2 separate regions of the Homo sapiens genome follow, and region 1 is linked to region 2. The links are contacts of gene promoters, found by promoter capture Hi-C in blood cells and fetal thymus (Javierre and others, 2016). All regions are on one chromosome and are shown on one strand. The core of a region is centred on a gene start or on the middle of the fragment in contact, and the rest is flanking DNA. Distances in the headings are between cores, read along the strand shown.

Region 1 (3,422 bases), core at 181-2,680, 2.3 Mb after region 2:
AGGGCTAGGCGATGTTCCAGGGAAGAATTGAGCAATAGGCCCCAACAGAAAGAGTGTACAGGAGCACTGACAGGCCTTTCCAGAGGATGATCTAACATCTCCCTCAGCCCTAACAGAGTAGGTTAGAAGTAGCCCCAGGGGAGAGAAAGCACTCCTAGCACCACAAACCATCACTAAATTTACATTTCACTCTCAAGTGTCAAAAGGAACTGTTACCTTTGGACCCTTGTCAAATGCGAATTTATGACATCTGAATCAATATTAGACAAATATAGAGCTGTTCAAATCTCCTCACTTTAAGACCCCATCCCTCCCCCAGTGCCTCCCTCATGGTTGTGAGTTGTGCCTGAATACTCTTCATCTGTAAGAGTTTCACTTCTGCACCTTCCCGTTGGTTAATTCGTTCAGCACAACGGTCCAGACTCACCCACCAGTCACGGACACACTGGGCAAGCCTGGTTTCAAGTCAGGGATCACCTCTCCAAAATGGGCCGCCCAGCTTATCTCTGAAGGCCAGCTGGATTCTCGCCTCAAAACCCAGGCGGTGGGTGGCAGTGTTTCAACTGCTCAGTCCAGCCAAACATCGAGAGTAGCCTGCGCACTCCCAGAAAGGCCACCTGCTTCCGACACGTGCCTTTGCTACCCATCAAGGCGAGGCATGCTAAGGCCCTAAAGAGCTCGACCAGGCATTCTGCGGGCAGAAGTTCCACAAGTTCCTGCACGCGCACATCCCCCATTTCATGTTAGTGGAGTATGCCCAAGTTCAGTTTTCCTGCTTCCACAAAGGAGAAAGAACCTACCATCACTCTTTCATGGGGCACGAGAATAAGCACATGGTTTTTACTGAGCGCCTATCATTTTGCTATCTATGGTCTAACGATACACTTGTGAAGGAAGAATTATTATTAAAATGACCCACAGAGATTTAATAAGTTGCCCAAAAGCTTATGTTAAGTGTTGAGCTGGCTAGAGACGAGCCAGATCCGTCTAAATCCCAAGGGTTAAACAGTATGAAAAAGCACACAGGTGCTTCTGCTGGTTATACCCGCCTCCACGAGAAACGCTACAGGTTTTCAAGGTGAACACCCTTGCTCCGGCCCCTCCAGGCACCGTGCGGATTGGCAGGGAGGCCTCGGACGCCGCAAGCCGGGCACGCAGTGATAGGTCGCGGACGCCAGGGGCGGGACTCACTTAGGCCCCTCAGGACTCACTCGCTTGTGCTGCGCGTCAATACGGCGTTGGCCCCCTCCCAGCAGCGCGGTCCGGCGCTTGTTTTCGATGCGTTCGTTAACAGAGGTGGCCTGGCTGCAAAGGCTGCGGACCGCGGCGCGGAGACCGCTCGCCAGAACGCTGAGCCTTGCCCCGACCGCCGCCACCCGTAATGCCGCCGCCATTTTTGCTGTGCCGGCGCGTCCCCTACCGGCGCACCTGAGTACGCATGTGCTAAAGCGTGGGTACGGCGCTTGCGCAGCATCGGCTGGCTGTAGGGAGCCGCGGGGGCTGGACTACAGAACCTGCTTGGGAGTAAGGCGTGAGAGTTCGAGACCCGGTGCTGCCCGAGGAGGGTCGCGCAGAGAAAAAGTACAGGGCCTGCCTGGCTGCACAAAAAAGGGACATAGTCCTTGCTCTTCTCTGACCACCTAGACCCTTAACTTTGTCGTCCCACTTCCTACAGAAAATGATTATAAGATTTAACCAACATTTATTAAGCATTGTGCCAGGTGTTGCTTTTTGCACTTACCATGCACTAGCTTACTATCTGGATTTCACAGATGAGGTAAATCAAGCACAGAGAGATGAGTGATTTGATCAAGAGGCAAGACTGAGGCCGAGGTAGGTGAGCCCAGGAGCCCAAGACCAGCCTGAGCAATATAGTAAGACCCCACCTCTACAAAAAAATTAAAAATTAGCTGGGCATGGCGGCTTGCACCTGTGACCCCAGCTACTCGGGAGGCTAAGGCGGCAGGATGGCTTGGCCCAGGAAGTCGAGGCTGCAGTGAGCCGTGATTGCATCACTGCACTCCAGCCTGGGCAAAACCCTGTCTCAAAAAAAAAAAAAAAAAAAAGCCAAGACTGACAATGTGGTTGGCCAGGATTCAAACTCAGAGACCTATCATTAATATGTGCCAGATAATGAGCACAGGACCCTTAACCTCTAATCAGTAGTTCTCAAAGTATGGATCCCATTAAAGAAAAAACTATTCATGACACTTAATTATTCATGTTTAAGAATGGTAAGGCAAACTTTATTCAGGCCCAATCTGACAGAGGTAGGGATAGAGTTTTGCCATAAGTCAGAGCGATTGGGCTGAATATAGCAAAGTGGTAATTTATAGCTAAGGGGCAGTGTGTGGAAGTCAGTGGATGGAAAATTACTAAGAGGAAACATTGGCGGGGAATCTGGCTAAATTGACCTAACAGGATTCCTGCCCAAGGCAGGTCAGGGTAACTGAACATCACCTGGGGGATGGTGGCGGTATGGGTCAAAACCAGATATGGAGAGTAATCAGATATCAAGAATGGAGGATTCTGGCTAAACTGACTTGGCAAGTTTCTTGCTAAAATGGAATTCCACAAGGAATGACATGGGAGCCCACACTCAGGCCTAGTCAAAGAGAGAGCTCAGAAGAGCCTGACCAATGTTTGATCAAGGAGGGAATCTTGTCAATCCAGCAACTTCAGTATCACCTGGGAGTGAGTTGGAAATGCAAGCTCGAATTCTCAGAACTTACTCCAGACCTTTAAATCAGAAACTCTGGGGCTGGGGCCAGCCATCTGTTTTAGCAGATGACCTTTAGGTGATTCTGATCTGCTTGCTAAAGTTTAAGAACCACTGCTCTAGGAATTTGGAATTGTACTGTTGAGAGCTTGACCATCTGTTTCTCCCACTAACAGGCAGGTCTTCAAGACAAAGAACATGGTTTATATTTCTCATTTTTAGCCACAGAAAACTGCTAAAGTTGATCATGAGCCCTTCCCAGATCCAGCTCATAGCCAGGGCCTTCATAAAGTACAAATTCTGACCTATGACCTTAATGTTAATGCAATTCAACTCAGAAAACATTTTTGAGCACCTACCATGTGCCAAGAACTAAACATCAGTACTGATTGCATTTCCTGGAGTAGTAACAGTTCATCTAGATAGAGAGGGCAGCTTAGAGGCCAAAGCCTCTTGGCTAGGCAAAGCCCACCTGTATCTGTATAACTCCGTAATGGGTACTCTTGACCTTGCATTTGGGTCCTTGCTTTAAAGACTTTACCAACCTAGAGAGGCAGATGGACAACCTAGAGAGGCAGATTGCCTTGGGAGCACAAGAGAGAATTTGAGTAAGGCTGAGTGTGTTGAGGAGAGTTTCTCCAAGAAAGCATCCATATGCCAGGGAACAGAAGCAGTGTGAGCAAAGGCCTGGCATGTTCAGATT
Region 2 (3,738 bases), core at 533-3,032:
TGTGTGCAGGGATGTTTTCCTTCTCTAGCAAAGAGAGGTGCTGGAAAGGCTTTCATGGTCCATAAGAAGGGAATTGTTTTGGAGGGCAGTGCTATAGCAACTCTTCCCCTCCATTCACCACATAAAAAATTCAGTTAGAAAATAGAGAGGAATCAGCCTTCTTGTGCTTTGAAGACTGTGAAAGATACTGGTGATCATCCATCTAGCATCCATTTTCCTCTTCTCCTTTACAGGTCTCCAGTTTTATTCAAATAGCCATGTCTCCACCTTGCAACTCATGTGACTCAAAGAGCACTGACACCATTGCCAATTCCAATTGTCATAGCTCCTTTTCACTTCTGGAACCCAGGCTTAAGCTGTCTGTACATTTCCCAGGCAGTTACTGGTAAAGAGGAAGAGTGTGTGCCTGTGTGAACTTATTGGCTCAAAAAACCAGAAGGAAAGGTTTTAGATGAAAAAGAAAGTATGTGGTCCTGATTTCTCCAAGTAGACATCTGGAAAATCACGTTAGTATGAATTTGAAGTCTACCCTTTTTTTTTTTTACAACAAAGCAGAGACTAATAGCAACTGGGTCCTTGTTAACTTGCTTAGCCACTGAATTAATCAAAGTCTCCCTTGCCTCTGAGCTTTCTGTTATGCGAGATAAGCAACTTCTTTATTTTTTAGGAAGACAGTTTAACTCAGATTCTATATCACGTGCATCCAAAATAATAATAACTGACTCAAAGATGTTTGGCCTCTACAATTAGGGCAGCCATTCTCAGAAGAGTATGCAAGGGCACCCTATTATCTTGGAAAAGGGAAGCACTGAGACTATTTGCATTTTGAGAACTGAAAATGCAATCTGCTAACCGTCGTTAGAGTGAATATCCAGGTATGGAAAGCACAGTGGGTAGGCGTAGGTTGGGGTAGGGACATGTTTGCATGGGGCAAACACAGAGATCAAACCTAAGTGTAGTCCCAGCTGCCTGGAAGAAGGCTAAGAAGGGTCTGAAAGTATTGAGCTCCAAGAGCCCTTGGATCTCCTGATGAGAGACCCTTGGCTGATGCCCTAGATGGGACATCCCTGTTGGCTACTGTGGGACCTGCATCATTTGACTGCAACACAGTCTGTTGCAACATTTGACTGTAACACAGACCTACATCATTTGACTGATTTGAAAAGACAAGTTGTCAACAGCGACACCATGTGGCTATAAGATACAATGACAATGGTGGACAGCTACAGCCTCAGGTAGGGCCTGACGCTTCGTCGAGATGTGGAAAATGCTGAATGGGAAGATGAACTGTCGTCAACAAATATTTATTGGGGTCCTCCAAATGTCAGCTGCTACAGTGGTCATTCAGGTCTGGAACATCGAGAACATGCTGACCCGTACCCCAGCAAGGGCTCGTAGTCGCGGCGGGGTAGGGGGCGAGAGAGAGGGCAGTCTCTGGTGGCCAGGTAACCCAGGCTTCACTTTCACCCACGGCCACAAGTATTTCTGACGTCTTCCGGGCAAATAAGCCTCCATGTAAGTGACAGGGCACCCAAGGAGTGCGTTGGAAGCGCCAGCGTGCCCGAGACCAGCACATCGCACCGACGCCTTCGTTTGCGGTAAGCCCCGCCCCCCGTAGTGAGCCAACCGGAGGGAGCGGGGCGGACCCAGCTTCCCGGAGAGGCTGGAGAGAATCGTTTGGGGGCATTCGCAGGCCAAAGAGGGGCTGGCCCTCGACGCGCTCGGGCTCGATTGGCCGCCCTCCCCCGGCGGTGGTAACGGTCGCGGAGGCGGGGCCTGACGTAGCTGATCCCAGCCTAACCTGGCCCGGCTGGCTGCTGGTGGGAGGCCGGCGACTGAGTAAGGTGAGTGGCTCTCGGGGCTCTCAGAGGCGTCGGCGTGAGCCCCTTCCCGGAGTACCCCGGACTTGACCTCACCTGGGCCTAAAAGTGGTCAGACTGACCCTTGTCGGGGAGGAGCCATCTGGGACAGGGTCGCGCCAATTAAAAATCCCTGCGTAAGGGTTTGGGGATCGGACAAAACTGCCTCCAGTCCCAGCTCCCCAGGCTTTGTGTTCTTTGGCTTCTCCTTTAATGTCTCAGCGCCTCCGATTCTTTATTTGTATACTAAAGCTGGTAATTCTTGCCTTACAAGGTGGTTGTGAGGGTTAAATGAGGCAGTAAGAGTAAAGCTTAGAATCACGTCGGGCACAGACTCGATTTAAGCTGTAGGTAATTACTCCATCCCCCAAAATCGACCCGGGCTGAAGCGCTAGTTTTGTGTCAAACAACCGCGAAGGTTGTTTGGGGAGTGAGGACTCGGAGCAGAAGGGGGCGGTTAGGCGAATAGCACAGGTGAGTATCTCTTTCTCCAGTTTATTAACCTCATTCCGGATTCAGGAGACCTCTGACTTTATACAGGGCCTAATAGGAGTTTTTCAAGGTGAAAAATGCCAGAAGGCTAAGTCACCTGTAACAGAGAGACCAATCAGAGTTTCCTTTTTTACTGCCACTTTGTTTTTCAATCAATGATATTAAACAGGCAGGGCGCAGTGGCTTACGCCTGTAATCTCAGCACTTTGGGAGGCCGAGGTGGGCGGATCCCCTGAGGTCAGGAGTTCGAGACCACCCTGGCCAACATGATGAAACCACGTCTCTACTAAAAATACAAAAATTAGCTGGGCATGGTGGTGTGCGCCTGTAATCCCAGCTACTCGGGCGGGTGAGGCAGCAGAATCGCTTGAACTCGGGAGGCGGAGGTTGCTGTGAGCCGAGATCGCGCCACTGCACTCCAGCCTGGGTGACGGAGCGAGACTCTGTCTCAAAAATATATGTATAATATATTAAACTCTGTGCAGGCATTACCCATATTGGTTTCAAGCCTCTGCATGAGTTTTGTACTTTAAATATTGCCAAGTAGACTCTGGCCTCCCCTGCCCCGCCTTTTGGGGAAGAGGTGGCTGACTTGGAGTTTTCCCTACAGCTTTTGCTTCAAAGCAAGGTTCTGCCCCTTCATGTCACCTCTCCTGAGACAGAATGATTTGGTTGAGATGACATTCCATTTTAACTCTTTCCTATTTGGGGTAAGTTCAGCTCTTTCTTAGGAACATTAAACAGCAAGTTGCAATATTTTTAGAATAGAGCTTTTGCATTTAATAAGGAATAGAGACTTCGAAAGGGTTACATGTTCATTTATTGCAGTAATTTGAAGTATATACTTTTGAAGATGCTTACAGATTTTGGTGTGATTCAGTTGAGAAGGAACAGTTATTGGCCATGGTTTATTGTCAGCTCCCCTCCCCCACCCCAAATGGTGAAAAAAATAATTAAATTTTAAGATATGGAGCATGTTACAAGGGGCTTCAGACCTATAAAGGGCAATTTGGCTGAAAGACTCGGGAAACCTAGAAAGTGCCAGAAGATGCAATTATGTTTTTGCTTTTCTATGCTTGGCTTACTATGCCATGTACAAATCAACTCCTACCCTCCGACTCCTACCCCCCGACTCCTACCCCCAACAATCTTATTTTAAGTGTGTTATGACAGTAATTAAAGCTGTAGCTTCTGTTTTGGCCCTAGAAAGCATTTGGTCTCTTCCTGTGACTTTAAAGTTCCAGACCTTTGTCCTGTCACAGCCTGTAGTGGGGAAAAGGCTGCTGCAAACTATTGGCCCGTTTATTTCACAGAATGGTCCTCTGAAAAGGAGGGCTTGGTCACAGGTGCAAATGAGGAGTAGTTTTGTTCCTGTGTTTGCTTTTGT

The links. The method cuts DNA at HindIII sites, captures the fragments that hold promoters and counts their contacts. A CHiCAGO score of 5 or more calls a contact.
Region 1: a contact is called between the fragment with the promoter of PCCB here and the fragment with the promoter of CEP70 in region 2, in 2 of 17 cell types (fetal thymus and activated CD4 T cells). The highest score is 9.9, in fetal thymus.

Annotation. Positions count from the first base shown.
Region 1 is chr3:136,248,348-136,251,769 of GRCh38, reverse strand. PCCB (propionyl-CoA carboxylase subunit beta) reads right to left here and starts at 1,430. Exons shown (of 15, transcript NM_000532.5): 1 at 1,212-1,430. The coding sequence starts at 1,394. RefSeq lists enhancers at 956-1,005, 1,636-1,695, 925-1,791. The HindIII fragment of the contact is 10,493 bases long and covers 947-3,422 here.
Region 2 is chr3:138,592,304-138,596,041 of GRCh38, reverse strand. It overlaps CEP70 (centrosomal protein 70), which reads left to right and starts at 1,782. Exons shown (of 18, transcript NM_024491.4): 1 at 1,782-1,844. RefSeq lists an enhancer at 1,518-1,577. The HindIII fragment of the contact is 6,508 bases long and covers 1-2,172 here.